Regions from separate parts of the Homo sapiens genome. Here all the other regions are linked to region 3. Evidence: promoter capture Hi-C in human tissues and cell types (Jung and others, 2019). All regions are on one chromosome and are shown on one strand. Each heading gives the region's core, a stretch centred on a gene start or on the middle of the fragment in contact. The rest is flanking DNA. Distances are from core to core; before and after follow the strand shown.

What was found. The method cuts DNA at HindIII sites, captures the fragments that hold promoters and counts their contacts. A contact is called where the count stands out against the background at its distance.
Region 1: a fragment that was not itself captured here is called in contact with the fragment with the promoter of LDB2 in region 3 in 1 of the 25 tissues and cell types used here (mesenchymal stem cells).
Region 2: a fragment that was not itself captured here is called in contact with the fragment with the promoter of LDB2 in region 3 in 1 of the 25 tissues and cell types used here (IMR-90 fibroblasts).
Region 4: a contact is called between a fragment that was not itself captured here and the fragment with the promoter of LDB2 in region 3, in 3 of the 25 tissues and cell types used here (H1 embryonic stem cells, IMR-90 fibroblasts and heart right ventricle).
Region 5: a fragment that was not itself captured here is called in contact with the fragment with the promoter of LDB2 in region 3 in 2 of the 25 tissues and cell types used here (dorsolateral prefrontal cortex and heart left ventricle).
Region 6: a contact is called between a fragment that was not itself captured here and the fragment with the promoter of LDB2 in region 3, in 2 of the 25 tissues and cell types used here (dorsolateral prefrontal cortex and mesendoderm cells).

What each region holds. Positions count from the first base shown.
Region 1 is chr4:16,743,659-16,746,433 of GRCh38, reverse strand. All of the region lies in intron 2 of LDB2 (LIM domain binding 2), which reads left to right. Among named protein-coding and RNA genes, the nearest start is that of LDB2, 150 kb to the left of the region's middle. The HindIII fragment of the contact is 3,381 bases long and covers 1-2,775 here.
Region 2 is chr4:17,081,576-17,084,692 of GRCh38, reverse strand. It overlaps LOC105374507 (a long non-coding RNA gene), which reads left to right and starts at 2,064. Exons shown (of 4, transcript XR_925441.3): 1 at 2,064-2,255. The HindIII fragment of the contact is 8,233 bases long and covers 1-3,117 here.
Region 3 is chr4:16,897,295-16,900,226 of GRCh38, reverse strand. It overlaps LDB2 (LIM domain binding 2), which reads left to right and starts at 1,582. Exons shown (of 8, transcript NM_001290.5): 1 at 1,582-1,873. The coding sequence starts at 1,742. The HindIII fragment of the contact is 10,471 bases long and covers 1-2,932 here.
Region 4 is chr4:16,719,969-16,722,890 of GRCh38, reverse strand. All of the region lies in intron 2 of LDB2 (LIM domain binding 2), which reads left to right. Among named protein-coding and RNA genes, the nearest start is that of LDB2, 180 kb to the left of the region's middle. The HindIII fragment of the contact is 6,090 bases long and covers 1-2,922 here.
Region 5 is chr4:17,120,175-17,123,014 of GRCh38, reverse strand. No RefSeq gene overlaps it. Among named protein-coding and RNA genes, the nearest start is that of LINC02493, 64 kb to the left of the region's middle. The HindIII fragment of the contact is 6,905 bases long and covers 1-2,840 here.
Region 6 is chr4:17,102,393-17,105,516 of GRCh38, reverse strand. No RefSeq gene overlaps it. Among named protein-coding and RNA genes, the nearest start is that of LINC02493, 82 kb to the left of the region's middle. The HindIII fragment of the contact is 3,469 bases long and covers 1-3,124 here.

The sequences.
Region 1 (2,775 bases), core at 28-2,527, 150 kb after region 3:
AAGACTGTCCAATATTAGCCGTGGCTTTGGCTAAAAAGAGACAGATACAGATTTGAATTTTTAGTCCCACGTAAGTACTTCTTGCTGTGATATTATAATTTGCCAAAAAAATGGAGTCAGACACGTAGTTGGTTCTTGGTGTTTTTCAAATATGTTCAATAATGACTTACTGGATTAGTTAATAAGTTAAAATGATAAACATTCTAATAATGCTTTACAGTTTATGAAATGCTTTCATAAATCAGGACCATCTGTAAGCTTACTGAGGGTGGGGACTGTGTGTCATTCACCTTTGTAGTCACTGTGCCTGTTTCTGTGATACAGAAAGGCCCATGGTCAATATTTGCTGAGTAGTACTTGGTGACCATGCGTCATTCCATCATCAGTACAAACCTGGGAGCAGGTGTCAGATTGATCATTAGTGTTGAAGAGACGACAAAAGCGAGGCCTTCAAAGATGCAGAATTCAACTCTTCTGCCATATAGGCCCATACTGTGTACCCTTTACCATCCCACTATTCAGAACTTTTTTTTTTTTTTCAACAATAGAGAATCTTTAAACGTGACCTGTTTGGATTAAAAAAAAATTCTAATGTCTTACTCTGGATCCTGGACACTTACCTCCTTCTCTCCTCATTTGCTCCTCCCAGAAAGAGCACAGGTTAAGCATAATTAGTTCTTCGTGGCAAATGTGTACCTGCAGCCTGTTTTTCTTATTGTAGTTAAGTGTGGATTGCTGAAATCCCTTCGACATTGCTGCTATGAAGCTGACATTTATAAATTTTCTTTCTTAACGCAGTATGGGGTCCTCCATATGTCTTCCACAATAACTCTCTGTGTTTTCAGGGAATCTAAAGATTTATTTCCTTCCAAGTCCTTGTTGCTGGCATTTTCTCCAAGCCTCCAAAACTGCCAGGAGATGAACTTCAATTTAGAGGAACTGTTACATTTGTCATTGTGAATTTGCTAAACTTTGGATAAATTTGAAGATTTATGCTTATTCGCAAATGGGCCCTGAGAATATCTTTGGAGCTCAGAAAGTTCACGCTTGACTTCCTTTTCACTGTTCTAAGTAAACGAGTTCTTAAATCCCCGCAGTCTCCCCGCCTGGGCTCTGGGTCTCTGCCATTGCCTCAGCCTGCATTCATTTGGACCAACAGGAACTGAGATGTGACTTACCTCTGAGGTGTAGAGGAGGAGGGCCTTCTGCCTGCCTTGTTCTGTGGAAATCACATACTCAGTCTGTATTTCCAGGATGACCCAATTAGAGAATGCCTTACATAACCCCTCACTTTAAAGGCAAATAGCCCAGGCTTGTGAGTCAGACAAGCTTGGCTTCAAATCACGACCCTGTCCTGCAGTTACCATATGACCTCGGATGTTACACCTAATTTCTCTGAGTCTCACCATTTTGATCTGTATAATGAAAATAGTGTCTATCTGACACTGTTACTATAGTATTTGTGAGTAACATACATACAATCCCTGATACACAGGAGTTTTTCAATAAGTAATAGCTATTATAATCTGTATTTATATGTACAGCTAACAAACCAAAAAATTGACTTGGCTTTGACTTGCTCAAGGCAACCCAGCTAGCTGGTAATAAAGTCAGGATTCAAATTAATGTTTCCTAATTCTTCATAAAACACGTGACTTGGCTGGGCGCGGTGTCTCAGGCCTGTAATCCCAGCCCTTTGGGAGGCCGAGGCGGGCAGATCACGAGGTTAGGAGATCGAGACCATCCTGGCTAACACGGTGAAACCCCGTCTCTATTAAAAATACAAAAAAAATTAGCTGGGCATGGTGGCGGGCACCTGTAGTCCCAGCTACTTGGGAGGCTGAGGCAGGAGAATAGTGTGAACCCAGGAGGCGGAGCTTGCAGTCAGCTGAGATCAAGCCACTGCACTCCAGCCTGGGCAACAGAGTGAGACTCCGTCTCAAAACAAAAAACAAGCAAAAAAAAATCACGTGACTTGGCCAGGTGCAGTGGCTCACACCTGTAATCCCAGAACTTTGGGAGGCAGAGATGAGTGGATCACTTGAGGTCAGGAGTTCAAGACCAGCCTGGTCAACATGGTGAAACCCTGTTTCCACTAAAAATACAAAAATTAGCTGGGCATGATGGCGGGTGCCTGTAATCCCAATTACTCGGGAGGCTGAGGCACGAGAATCACTTGAACCCAGGAGGCAGAGGTTGCAGTGAGCTGAGATCCAGCCACTGCACTCCAGCCTGGGTGACAGAGTGAGACTGTGTCTAAAACAAACAAACAAACAAACAAACAAACCACATGAGTCTATTTATTAGTAACTTGCTAAAGTTTCCATACTCTCATTTTCATTTTAAACAGTCTAGAAGAAACCTAGTTTACAAGGACCACATATCATATTTTGTTCTTTGAATCATCTTCAAAATATTTTAGAGCCAAGTATAGGGGGAAGTGTCATTAACTGCCTTGATTTTAGTGATGTGTAAAAAATTGGAGACAATCTATTTGATAGGTATTTTAGTTTTCGATTGCAGAATATCAAATTACCAAAAACTTAGTGAATCGAAATGACACACATGTATTATCTCACAGTTTACCTGCATCAGGAGTCCAGGCTAGGTTGCTGGGTGCTCTGCCTAGGGTCTCACAAGGCAGAAACTGAGGTGTCATTTGGGGCTGAGGCTTGTTGGCAGAATTTGTTTTTTTGCAGTGGTACGATGGAGGTTTCTGGGTTTTTTTTTCTGGCTATTAACTGGGGGCTGCTTTCATCCCTGGAGGTCTTCTAC
Region 2 (3,117 bases), core at 310-2,809, 180 kb before region 3:
TCCTATTTTGTTCCTGTTCATACTTTTAAAATCCATTTTTCATTAGGGTATTTTGTCTTTTTGTTTTGTATCTAAAGGAGCTATTTACTTATTTTTTTAAAGACGGGGTTTCACCATGTTGGCCAGGATGGTCTCGATCTCCTGACCTTGTGATCCGCCTGCCTCAGCCTCCCAAAGTGCTAGGATTACAGGCGTGAGCCACTGCGCCTGGCCTAAAGGAACTTTTTATGTACTCTTTATATATTCTTGATTCTAGTCACTTATCAATTAATTGTGTTACAAATTAATTCTTGCAGTTGGTAATTTGTTGTTTTACTTTCTTTAAGATGTCTTTAATGAGTAAAAACATCTTAAACGTCCTCTCAAATTTTTTATAATAAATAGGCATTTGTTTTAAAACAGGGAAAAATTTGTAAAATGTCCCAGGTGAAATATTTAATATACATTTCACTTTAAAAATGTGTATGCGTGTGTGTGTTTATTTGCAAGGACATATACAACAATTTTGACATGTAGTATCAAAAATAAGGTTGTAAATATTATTAAATATCTTCATACTTTTTGTGTATTTAATGTTATGCAATTAATATTTACTGTCTGGAAATTAATAATGAGATTACTGAAATTTTAGAAAAAAATTAAAATCTGGCAAAGTAAAAAAAAGACTGCTTTCTATATCAAAATAAGGTGATTCTAACACAGGCAAATAATTAGCTATATCTAATGCCTTATATAGTGAGGTCACGAACCATCATTTCAAGTATAAAACATGTAAATTGCCTTAATTTCTTAAAATACATAGCTCCAGAGAAGCCTTAAAAATAACATAATCATTGTCATTCGTTAGTATTATCATTATTGAATCAAAGAAGCTAAAGTTCAACACCAGGGCTTTATGATGAAAACCAACACAAAATAAATCACATCCACTACTTGAGCCCCACTGTGATGAGACTGAGTAGAACTTTTTCCAGAGCCAGATACACAGCTCTTTTTTTTTTTTTTTTTTTTTTTTTTTGAGACGGAGTGTTGCTCTGTCGCCCAGGCTGGAGTGCAGTGGTGCGATCTCAGGTCACTGCAAGCTCCGCCTGCCAGGTTCACGCCATTCCCCTGGTGCAGCCTCCTGAGTAGCTGAGACTACAGGTGCTCGCCACCTCGCCCAGCTAATTTTTTGTATTTTTGTAGTAGAGACAGGGTTTCACCGTGTTGGCCAGGATGGTCTCGATCTCCTGACCTCGTGATCCACCCGCCTCAACCTCCCAAAGTGCTGGGATTACAGGCGTGAGCCACTGCACCCAGCCGATACACAGCTTCTTAAAGGCCAGTTAGGAAGCACACTTCTAAATTCATATTTGGAGAAACAAATGAATTTTTGAACAAATGAATTGGTAGGCTTAGAATTTCTGTCACCACTTAGGCGTATGATATGAAAATTTATAAGACTGATCACAACCCTTACATCACACGGTATTGGGAGAGGGTGTGTCAAAAACTAATTCAGTGCATATTAGAACACACTGAGTTCAGGATTTATTAGAACTTCACATGCTGGCCCTCACTGATTTTGTTGCTAGAAGGATAATAACTATATTGCATGTTTAAAAAATGTATAACCATTGTTGAAAAGAAAAGGTCAGGTAGGAGTTACAGATTTGAGTGGAAATTTCTTATATAGTAACAACTATTGCTTGTGTAATCCATCAAAGTTTTAAAATGACTCTTGACTTCGTAAAATCACTTCATACCCGTGATAATCTTATGAAGCACAGAAGAATCATTAGTTCCAAGGAGGCAATCAAATCTCAGGAGGTGTACATTCCCGAAGAAACGTAATGGGCAAGTGATAAAGCTAGGATCAACTCCAGATCATTTTTCTCCAAATTCAGTGTTCGTTTTTTCTATCCGATAATGGAACCTAGGAATTTGGCCGATCAGTAATTGACTAAACTTCCAGGGATATCTGTTTTTTCATTTCCTAGATGTAGTTGGGACATTAATCAGTTTTATAAGAGAAATGCATTCCATTATGAAATTATTAAATGAGCTCCCCTCTTCCAGGGACAAAAAGAAGGGAGCAGTTCAGCTACTTGAAGAAACCAAATGGTATGTTGAGGCAAATTAAAACCAGAGAGTCAGTTGGAGAAGCCCGAAGAGTAACCCAGGTGTCGAAATACAGACACATCAGGAGAAAACAATGCCAGCCTCCTGCCAGGGATCTATCTTAACTAAGCATCCAATTATCTTTTGGCTGCAAGGTAAGTGGAGTCAGGGGAAAGGCAATGTCACCAGATTAAATGTGGGATGTCTGGTTTTGCGGAGCCAGCTGGGGATGGGGTGAGGGAGGAAATGCAAGCTGCATGAGTAAAGACTTACGGTTGGTTGGGTCAGATGGTCTATGTAAGGAAGTGATGAATGATACAACTAAATACAGAAAGCAAAGGCCTTGAAAGATAGCAGGAGGGCCCTTGATAAAATATATTTTATGTGGTTTACAGCTTAAAAAATAGAAGAACAAGCATCATTCCTTCATTTAGTTATTCATTGAATAAACATAAATCCACTGTTCGATGTTGGGAAATCAGAGATAAAAAACACTTATGTCGGCCAGGCGTGGTGGCTCACACCTACAGCAATTTGGGAGGCTGAGACGGGCAGATAACTTGAGGTCAGGAGTTTGAGACCAGCCTGGCTAACATGGTGAAACCCTGTCTCTACTAAAAATACAAAAGTTAGCAGGGCATGGTGGCAGGTGTCTGGTAATCCCAGCTACTCAGGAGGCCGAGGCAGGAGAATGGCTTGAACCCGGGAAGCAGAGGTTGCAGTGAGCTGAGAATGCGCCACTGTACGCCAGCCTGGGTGACAGAGTGAGACTCTGTCTCAAACAAACAAACAAAAAGAAACAAAAACACAAATACAAAAACAAAACAAAACAAAAAACACTTATGTGATCCTGAGAGAGTTCCCACTTTATGTGTAGTTGAGGAACCACATAAACAAAAACATTATAATGCACTGGGATGAGTGCAATAATAGAAGGTTGTGGAAGCACCCACGAAGGCTTGCCGAAAGAGCTGATGTGTGAGCTGAGCCTTGAAGGGTGTCTAGGAGTTATCAATG
Region 3 (2,932 bases), core at 333-2,832:
AAGCGACATTAGTGTGTTAGGCTGCGCTGCTGGAAGTTTGGGGTGGACTCAGCAAATATTTCATGCAATTATGAAGAAGGACTGATCAAGACAGCAATACACTTTTCTGTGTCTGAGTATTTTTAAGAGTGTAAATTGCAGAATTAGCAATACTCTATCCCCTGTTGGCTAGTGACTTGGAGATACCCAAGCCATGATTGGGGCAGAAAGTTAATTAATCTGCTTATTAAAAAGAAGAAATGTCTCATTTGCATGCATTTGCATTCAGGTCTTGAATTCATTATGCTTTTTGGTGGTCCTTTGCTTTATTTCCTTAATACCACTGACCTACCTAGGTGTTAGCTCAATACATTTAAATTTTGTGTGGCTGGGCTTTGTTTAAGTGTCGTATCTCTGGTTATAGTGGGTTCTAGCAGAATTTGATTATTTTATAGATTGTTTAATTCTCTATAGAGATTTTCCCCTTCCATGGGCTGTTGGGATTTCTTATGGTTATCATATACCACAGTTGGGAAAATATTTGTTTACTTGACCAATCTTGGAAAATACAGACTTTGTCTCCATAAGAGTTGGACATGTTATCTGGGGATGATCCATTCAATTATTTGCAATTTCCTTCTCAACCAAATTTTCCGTGGTCATTTTTGTGGCAGTTTTCTCCTTCTTTGCTTTTCCTGTCTTATTGGGAGGTCTGTTTGGGTTTTTTGTTTGTTTGTTTGTTTGTTTTTCCTTCCTGGGAAAAAAGACCATTGCTCTCCTTAAGTGTATTTTATACCTTCCACATTCAGAACGACTGTTTTTACCTGAAAATGCCCAGGCACCTTAAGGGCCTGAATGAAGTCTTTGGAGAAGAGGGAGGTGGCTGGGAAGAGGGGTGAGTGGGGAGAGATGGGAGTGAGATGGAGTGGAGGGCAAAGAATATAACAGCCCTTGGAACAACAGCAAGTAAAGCAAAACTACATAGGGAGATTAGTGCTGAAATAAATCTCTGCATGTGAGTGAATCACCGGTCCCAATTCGGGGCACCACAGTGCCCGTGTTTCTGTATTTTGTAGTAATCAACATTTCTGATACATTACAACAGTGTGGTTGTCAGGGGTGAGCGGCTCATGTAGCGGTTAGACCACCTCTATGCTAACAAGCTTAGCAATCAGGTTGTGAAGGGTCCTGGCTGGAGGAAAAAAATTAAAACCAAACCTTAGACCTCTTGTCAGACTGTGAGGAGAATTATATTTGTGAACTAGTCTACAATGTGGACAGGAAATGACCTCTCCACAAACTGCTTCTTTAAAAACAAGCAGTGGTGCCTAAAGCTATCCAGCTCCTCTCTCTCTCTCTCTCTCTCTCTCTCTCTCTCTCTCTCTCTCTCTCTCTCTCTCTCTCTCTCTCCCCCTCCCTCCCTCCCTCCTCCCTCCCTCCCTCCCTCCCTTCTTCCCTCCCTTCCTCCATACCAACCTCCCTCCCTCTCTGGAGCTCCTGCTCTCTCCCTCTCCCTCCTCTCCCGTGCTCCCTCCCTCCCTCCCTCTTTCCCTCCCTCCTCTCCTCTCCCTCTCCTCTCCTGCTATAGAGGGCTCCGACAGCAGTTCCCAGCCAGCGTGTTCAGCCTGCCTGCCTGCCTGCCTCTGTGTGTGTGTGAGCGTGTGTGCGTGCGTCTACTTTGTACTGGGAAGAACACAGCCCATGTGCTCTGCATGGACGTTACTGATACTCTGTTTAGCTTGATTTTCGAAAAGCAGGCAAGATGTCCAGCACACCACATGACCCCTTCTATTCTTCTCCTTTCGGCCCATTTTATAGGAGGCATACACCATACATGGTACAGCCAGAGTACCGAATCTATGAGATGAACAAGAGACTGCAGTCTCGCACAGAGGTAAGTACTTCAACCTTGGGGATGTGTTTGTGTATTTTTGTTAAGCTATGCATGAGCTTTTCCTAGGGTTTCTGGCTGAATTCTATGGGAAGTGTCCCACTTGATACTACCACGTACGTGGAAATGAGCGCCAGGATGAATCCACGAGTTTGGACGCTGGGTTTCCAGGCACAGCAACTCTTGTAGCAGAGGACAGTTTCTGCCGGAATCTTGAGACAACCCAGCACTTGATTCACATGCCGGGTTTCCAGAAATGTTGCTCTTCCAGAACTCTGGTGTTTTACAGGCTCTGAGTCAGTCCTGTTGGTGTTTCTTGAGATATAATTCCAAGGAATTTTGTGATTGTTTGCATCTGGCTATATATATATATACATATGTGTATATATATATATATATATATATATATACATATGTGTATATATATATATATATATATATATATATATATATATATATATTTTCTTTTTTACAAATCCTAGAGGAAGTCTGCTTTGACCTGTATTTACTTTTCAGAGTCACCAAAATCGAGGTAAAAAGGGGCAGAAGAGTAAACCTGCCTACTTCTCAGAACTAGCCCTGGAGGGACACATGTTTGTATATTTCAGTGTTAAAATCAGAAACCAGTTGCTTGGGGCAAGGGGACTCTAGACTTTCTCCTATTGCTGTCGGCCGTGCCCCCCTATCACTCTACCTTAGGACAGGAGCTGGTTCAGCTTTCAAGTCAGCTCTAGTTTTTGCATATTTGAGATCTTGTGCCTGAGAGAGGGAGACTCAGCCTCCTAGGCAGCCAGCAACTCTGGGAGCAGAGAGAACAGGACTTTCAGAACTTTTTAAATGCAAAACTCCAGACTCGCCTCCTGCAATTTAAATATTTTATGTCAGTTGACTTTTTCTCTGTGCTAGCTCAGCTGGCAGGTCTTGCTGCTGGATTGTCCATCTGCCTGTAAGTTGGGGCTTTGTGTGGAAGTGTTCGGAAAAGGAGTTTGTTATAGGTGCACCAAAGTCACTTTAGGAAGTGGAAATTGCTAGGAATTTAGTCTTCTCTGCAGAGTATAAATA
Region 4 (2,922 bases), core at 163-2,662, 180 kb after region 3:
AAAAAATCATAAGTGGAACCATCATAAGGTGAGGACTGTCTGGGCCTTCTTGCTGTTTCTCATCATGCCAAACAGACCCTACCCTCAGAACCTTGAGTTTTCTGTCCTCTTATAAACAAATACAGTATTTATTGATTACCTATCATGTTACAGCTTCTTGGGTCACACAGAGATGAACAAACCATGGTCCTGACGTAGGAAAGTTGGCAATCAACTAGATAAGAAAGATTGGATAAAGACAGTATGGTGAGTGCCGAGAGAAGAATTTAAACCATACTCACCTCATTTAGGATACGATGGCATCTTTGCCTAGGGCACAAAAGAGATGACAGTTGATACACATCTTAAAGGATGAATGTATTCAAATGGAATTTCCTTCTGAGGCTAGCCCTTTAAAAATATCTGCTTAATAGATATTTTGCTATATTGTAGAATCACAGAAAAAAAGGAGCTAAAGGGTCCTGAGAGGTGTCCTGAGAGGGCACCCAGTTCATCTCTCATGTTTTCCAGCTGAGAGGCAGTGTAGCAGGTGGTTAAATGTGGGTTGGAATTCCATTTGATCCCATTAACATGACCCCTGCTGGGCAAGCTACTTTCTGTGCCTCACTTTTGTCCTCTGTAAAGTGGGTTTACTAATGGTACTTAGTTTATAAGGTTGTTGGAAGGATTCTCTGAACTAAAATGCAAAGTGCTTTTAGAAAAACAACCAAAATACATGGAAGAAAGCTTTCATGAAGTAGTAGCTGCTACTATGTTAAGAACACTGAGGCCCAGAGAAGTTCCATAATTTGCCTGCCGTCTCTTAGGTAATTATTGACAGACCTGAATCTAGAACCCAGATTGTTCTACTTTCTAATCCAGCAGCCTCTCATGGACACAGCATTTCATTCTGTCTTAAATTAGTTTATGGTATTTTAATTTTTTATTTAAACAAAATGAAAATGAATTTGAAACTTTTATTTACTTTGCCGAGCCATGGACTGTGGCTTAGAAAGTGAATGATTCATACCTTATCTCTAGTTCTCTTAAATTCTTGGAAGCATTTGACAAACATCACTGTACTTTCACCCTCTTTCGGCTTTAGATTATCTAGACTAACTGGCCTGTGCCCAACCCTATCGACAGAGTAACTGGGTAGTTTTAGTGTCAAGATGAGACAAGGAGACTTCCTCTGTGGTTAGGATCAGATCAGTGTGAGTTTCCTTTAAGAAGCAAAGTACTTTTCATCTGCTGACACTTCACAATTTAGGTTTGTTGCTCCATGTCCTATGGATACATTTGTGTGCAATAAGTTTGCCATTTTCCCCCTCAGTTTTTTTGTTGGATGATCTGAATTTTAGAGAGCCCAGGGGAAATTTTTGTTAAAAAAATGATGCTAATTTTAATGGACTCAGTTTAATTAATAATTCTAAAAAATTAACATAGATATTAAAAGTGAAAGGGAGAACCGGAATTCTATCTAGGAAGTGAATACTTTTTAAGCCAAGAGCTACTTCTTCCTGATCATAGAAAGGTGGGGACACAGAATTTAAAGACCAGAGGCAAAACATGCTGTCCCTTATATTTTGGATTATCTATCCGTTTGCTTCAGTTATCAATGTGGATAATTAAGAACTGACCCTGATTTAACTTGCATGTATTGTGTGCCTGTTTATAGATCTTTATACCCTCATGGGAGGCTATAAAAGGAAAGATAAGGTTCATTGATTTATTTCCAATTTTACAAACAGTCCAAGCATACACTTACTCAGTCATTTAAGGACAGTTTTATCAACAGTTTAAAAATATGATGGAGATTAAATATGTAAATTGCCAGAGGACATAGTTTTGGAATAAGGGAGTTTATGGTTTGTCAACTTCAGCTAACATCCAATGCTGAATTTTTTCTCTAACTTCCCTGTCAAGTGACTTGAACTTGGGCTTGCATTCCATGACAGATGGAGAGCTTTCCATCTCTTGGATCAGCCTAGTCTATCTTTAGACTGCTCTTGTGCTTAGAAAATCTTCCTTGTATTGAGAAGGATCCTACCGCTTTATAGCTTCTATCCATGAAATAAGATAACGATTTTAAAGATCTTGGTCCTTTGCTGCAACATGGTAATTCCTTAGTAAATGTTAATGACTATTAATATTACTATTATTGTCTTAGAAATAGTAGAAGTAGTGTTACATAAATATACGAACATCCATATTGCTTATTTATGGTGCATATGGTTAAAGCTTCCTAATTAAGTTAATGGGGACCTGACAAAGTCAATTGAACCAATTGACCTTGATGAGTTGAACATTGATGGTTGCCATGATGCCAGAAGATCAGAGCTGGCCTCTGTCTCTGGACATGGAGATTTGTGTTTGAACTCAGGTGTGTCAGTCAAGGTTCAACCAGAGAAACAAAACCGGTAGGAGACATATATTAGGAGAATTATTGCAAGGAATTGGTTTATGTGATTGTTGGGGATGGCTTAGCAATCTGAAAATTATTTGGCAGGCCAATGGAGATGAGCGAGCTGGAACTTTCAGGTGTGAGCTGACATTGCAGTCCACAGGTGGAATTTCCTGTTCCTCAGGAAAGCCTCAGCTCTGCTCTTAAGGCCTTTCAACTGATTTAATACTACCCGCCCCCACCACCCCTCCACCTCTCATTATCTAGGATAATCTTTCTTAAAGTCAACTGATTAGGAACTGAATCACATCTACAAAATACTTTTGAACATATACCTGGATTAGGGTTTGATTGAATTACTAGACATTAGAAACTAGCCAATTCGCACATAAAATCAACCATCACATCAGGCTCCACCATGGACTTTATATGACCATGAATGAGTTATTGAGTCTCTCTTGGCTTAAGAGAGATTATAATAGTTGAAGTTTAATAAATTAAAGGAAGATAAATATTTAAATTAGCTTTGATTTTACTTA
Region 5 (2,840 bases), core at 192-2,691, 220 kb before region 3:
GGGACAATAGTACCTCGGTGTCCCTGGGAAGTTTAAATAGGTAATAGTCAGCCTTCCTATCTGTGGGTTCTGCATCTGTGGATTCAACCAACTGTGGCTTAAAAATATTCAGAAAAAAATTCACACAGTTTCAAAAAGAAAACTTGAATTTGCTGTGCGCTGAGTACTGCATTGAATCCGGGTGAATGAAGTGATGTGTCAGCATTGTATTAGGTATTATCAGTAATCTAGAGAAGAGATGCTTTAAGGTATACAAAAGGATGTGCACAGGTTATATGCAAATACTATGGCATTTTATATAAGCAACCTCGGCAACTGCAGAGCTTGGTATCTGAGGGGGTTTCTGACATGCACATATACAGAATGACTGTATATGTAAGGTTATTGTGATTAAAGTGTTCCTCTCTGAAAAGGTAGTCAATACAAGAAAATAATGATTATAATTGTTTATATTAGACAGCTTTACTCATTATTCACTTACTGATCCCCTTTTTGTTTTATGCCAGATCCTTGCCAAGTGCTGAGAAAACAAAGATATGTAAGATGCTATCTCTACCCTTGAGAGGCTCAGGGTCTTGTGGTCTGAGAAAGACTCATTAGCAGGCTGTTACACTAATACAGGCCCGATGCTGTGTTCAGGTGCACAAAGGGAGTGACAGGCTCCATCTGAGGGGCACTGGAGGGTAGAGAGTGCATTCCTTGTCTTCCCTCTCTAGAGAGTGAGTACCTGTGTTTCTACATATGCATAAAGCATTCTAAGTGACTGAAATAAGCAGCAGGAGTACATAAAGGCCCAGACATGATAGGATGTAGTGACTCGAGGGGACACGAAAGTTTGGAGCCTCTATGTACCTCTTTCCGCACAGACTCCTACATGCTTCCTCTCTTTACATCATGGGTGTACCAAGCAGTTCTCAGACTTGAGTGTGCATCAGAATCCCTTGGAAGGCTTGTTGAAACACAGATTGCTGGACCCCAATTCCAGAGTTTCTCCTTCAGAAGGCTGGGGTTGGGGTTTGACATTTTGCATCTCTAATAATTCCCTGGGCAATGCTGATGCTGCTTGCCAGGGAACCACACTTTGAGAACCTCTGGTCTACCACAGCAGCTCTCATCCTGGCAGCAAATTAGAATCATCAGGGGAACTTCAAAAAATAGCAGTGCCAGGGCCCTGTCTCCCACATATTTCATTTCAGTTGATCTAGGGTGATGCTCATAGGCATATTTTTGTTTAGTTTTCCTTTTAATAGACTTTTAAAAATAGCAGTTTTAGGTTCACAGTAAAATTGAGGGAAGGTACAGAGATTTCCAATAACCCTGCTCCTCCACACATGCACAGCTTCTCCCACTATTAACACCCCCCACCAGAGTGTACATTTGTTATGGTTGACAAATTTACAATGACACATTATTATCATCTGAAGTCCAGCATTTACATTGGGGTTCACTCTTGGTGTTGTACATGCTATGAGTTTGGACAAACATGCAATCATATGTATCCACAATTACAGTAGCATACAGAATCACTATCCTGAAAATCTGCTGTGCTCTGCTTATTCATTCCTCTCTTCCCCTGTAACTCTTGGCAACCACTGATCCTTTTACTGTCTCCATAGTTTTGCCTTTTCCAGAATGTCATATAGTTGGAATCACACAGTATGTAGCATAGTTAGATTGGCTTCTCTCACTTAGTAATATGCAGTGATGTTTCCCCATGTCCTTTCACAGCTTATGGTTTATTTCTTTTTAGCCCTGAATAATATTCCATGTCTAGATGTACTACAGATTACTGACTGATTCACCTACTGAAGGACATACTGGTTGCTTTCAAGTTTTAATAATTATGACTAAAGCTGCCATAAACACCTGTGTGTATGTTTTTGTGTGAATACAAGTTTACAGTTCCTGTGAGTAAACACCAGAGAGTGTGACTGCTGGATTGTATGGTAAGAGTATGTTTAGTTTTTTTGTAAAACTGCCAAATTGTCATCCAAAGTGATTCTACAATTTTCCATTTCTGCCAGCAATGAATCAGCGTTCCTATTGCTCCACATCCTCAACAGCATTTGGTGTTGTCAGTTTTCTGGATTTTGGCCATTGTAGTAGGTAAGTAGTGGTAGCTCCTTATTCTTTTAATTTACATTTCCCTGATGACATACATCATAGAGCATCTTCTCTTATGTTTATTTGCCATCTGTACATCATCTTTGCTGAGGTGTCTTTACAGTCTTTTGCCCATTTTTCAGTTGGGTTTTTTCTTTTCTTATTTTTAAGTTCTAAGTGTTCTTTGTTTATTCTGAATAACGGTTATTTATCAGATATGTTTTTTTGCAAGTGTTTTCTCCCAGCCTGTGGCTTGTCTTTTCATTCTCCTGACAGTGTCTTTCACAGAAGAGAAAAATTTAATTTTAATGAAACTGAGTTTATCAATTCTTTATTTTATAGGTCATGTCTTTGGTGTTGTACAAAAAGTCACCTCCAAACTCAAAGTCATCTAGATTTTCTCCTATATTATCTTCTAGGAGTTTTATGGTTTTGCATTTTAAATTTAGGTCTGTGATCCATTTCGAGTTCATTTTTTTGAATAATGTAAGACCTGTGTCTAGATTTGTGTATTTATTTTTGCATGTGGATGTCTAGTTATTTCAGCACCATTTGCTAAAAAGACTATCTTTGTGCCATTGTATTGCCTTTACTTCTTTGTCAAATATCAGTTGATTTAATTTATTTGGGTCAATTTCTGGGCTTTCTATTCTTTTCCACTGGTTTGTCTATTTTTTTTTCACCAATACTGTACTCTCTTGATTATTGTCACATTTTAGTAAGTCTTGAGGTCAGCT
Region 6 (3,124 bases), core at 315-2,814, 210 kb before region 3:
AGCTCTGGGAGGCCGAGGTGGGTGGATCACGAGGTCAAGAGATCGAGACCATCCTGGCCAACATGGTGAAACCCCATCTCTACTAAAAATACAAAAATTAGCTGGGCATGGTGGCACGCACCTGTAGTTCCAGCTACTTGGGAGGCTGAGGCAGGAGAATTGCCTGAACTCAGGAGGCAAAGGTTGCAGTGAGCTGAGATTGCGCCACTGGACTCCAGCCTGGCGACAGAGTGAGACAACATCTCAAAAAATAATAGTAATAATAATAACTATATATGTAAAAGCTTCACATTGCAGGTCATGTGAACTGTATCTTCAAAGATAATTATGCTGTTCCAAGTAGAGAAGAGTCAAGGACATTCTAGATAGAGGAAACAACAATCATATAGGCTCAAAGGTAGGAAAGAACATGATGTACCTGGGGGTGTAGAGAAATGGGGAGCAGGTATGCACTGTATAGGGCACAGTGGCAGGAGGAGAAGGGGGTACGACTGTACTAGGACAATATCTGATTTATTTACATTTATTTGCTTGTGAATCCATCTTTCCTACTGGAATGCAAACTCCATGAAGGTCGAGACTTTGATTTCCCCAGCATGTAGAACTCCGTCTGGCACATAGTATGGCACAGTAAATATTTGTTGATTGAATGCATGTAGAATGGCCGGTAGGCCTTGTGAGGGGAGTTGAACTTTAACCCAGAGGTGCTGGGAGGGAACTTAATTTGCAGATAAGTGGTTGAAGATTATGGTAAGATTTGAGTTTCAGAAAGATATCTCTGATGCTAGAAGAAATGATGAAGGATAGAGAATGGAATCCTGGCAATGGAAGTTGGAAGCAGCAGCTACACAAAAGTAGCTAAGAGTTTCAGAACAGAAGAGGCTATAGGCCTGTGCTTTCTGGAACAGAAGTGACCCTGGGAGCTGAAGGGAGTGCATGCTAGAACTTCAGGTTGTTTGCTGAGGCATTTGAGGTATTAATGATCTGCTCAATATTTTACAGAGAAATGTATCAAGGCTAAGAACTGTTGATTGAGGTTTTTCTTTTGTTGAATATCATTCAGTGTTTATTATTCATCTGGCATGATCTAGAAACTGTTGAAATACACATTTTTATTGATCTGCATAAACTTTTTTCATTTTATTACATAAACCATATAACTATCATTTGAGAAACAAAATCTTTCTCTACAAAAATAATAAAAAAGTGGATGTAGCATTATTTTCCTTCCTACTTAAAATTTGTCCGGAATTCAAAAGCATCATCAGCATCCCTGAGAACATGTCAGAAATCCAACATTGCGGAATCACCTTAGATGAACTGAATGACAATCTACATTTTAGGAAGCTAACAAGTGATCCATGCAAAGCTTAAGAAGCTATACTTTAAGGAATATTTACTTCAGATATTTTCCCCCCAAATGAGGCCATTTAAGGAAATTTCTATTTAAAGCCACATGAAAATATATACCTATCTTTACTTCCTAATTAAGGAAAAGTTAAAATTGAAGGCATTTGAAAAATTATAAAGGATAAAAAGCATAATTATTTATCAATGTCATTATCAAATATTTGACTGTACATGTTGGTTTGAGGTTTTGCTCAGTCCCATAACTTAACATGGTTATTCTGTGTACTGAGTTGTCACTGCCCTGCAGGCTTGAGCCCAAATGTAACACAGTTCATACACTGGAGGTAGGTTCAGCGCCCTGCAGTAGAAATGCCCAGCTGAGTCCTGCCTGGATCAGCCAAAATTATTAACATGAAAATCCATGAACATGAAAATCCATGCTTAGTGTTATAAGCCACTGAGTTTTGAATAATTAGTTATCAACCAATTAATTAATACCAATTGTGCAGATGTTGACCAATATAATATTTCTACATCTACTCAGACAAAAATATTTTATTAAAATGTATGGCCTTGAACTCAAGATGGGCACAAGTTTGCTCCACTGACAAATAGGGATGTAAACCCACCCCTACTTGGCTCCACAGCCTGTGTCTCCACCATGACACATTTGCCTTCTCTGAAGTTTATGCTGGATGTGGTTTTCTACTGATGTGCAATATTATGGTGATGCTGTAGTAAAGCACTGTTCCAGTCGGCCACATACATTCCATTTCTTCTCCAGTTGAGTTTTCTTCATTCTGCAAATATGTGGCATTGGAAGCTGGAAAGAGGCTACTTGGCTGAAACCTTTCTGATGGAGTCTATGTAAACATACAGAAGAAAAAATGTGTAACTAAGGTTCATATCCCTTAAAAAGAATATGTAGACAATTCAAGTGGCTGTATTAAAAGTTTCACATTCTACCACCACTTTGGTACATTAAAAGAGCTGTGAGAAACCTGACCTGCCAAAAAATGAATGGCCTTAGTATACACTTTTAGCAGTCCATTCATAAAGATTTTAAGAGGAAATTAAAACAGATTTGGGAAAATGTGCATGTATGTTTCTAATAATGCATGTAAGTACATAGACAGCATATTTGTTTTATTGTTGGCTGTACATACTCATAAAGATCTGCATAAACTCTTTTGTGTGTATGTATCTTTTCGGGGTCTATGGTGTGCCCCAGAAACTGAGTGTGCACAGTAGTAAGAGCATTGAAGTCAGAAGTTCTGAATTCAGGTTCTAGCTTTTCTACTTTTTGGCTGTGTGGCCCCAAGGAAGATACTTTTCCTCTAAGCTTCATCTTCATTCATGAAACAAGGTTAACTGATCATTTCTTGTCTACTTTAGAGGCTTATTGAAATAATCATGTAAGACTTATGATCTCATAAGGGAAAGACCTAGCATTTATTAAATGCCAGGTACATTGCTGAGCACTTGACATGCATGTTCTCATTTAATCCTTAGAACAATCTATGAGGTACTGTAGTACCAGTCCCAATTATTATATTATCCTCAATTTACAGATTTCATAACTGAGGCTCAGAGCTTAATTAAACCAAGCACTATTCTATAAATTGTAAAGTAATATTAAACAGAAAGTGCCAGTCTGACTACTACCTTCACTTTATAAGGAAAATATGAAAAATTTTCAATATATGGATCCCACCTTCTGAGAGTTGAGCAACTTGTGCCAATAACCGAAGAAAATGTAAGAAAACAAAACAAA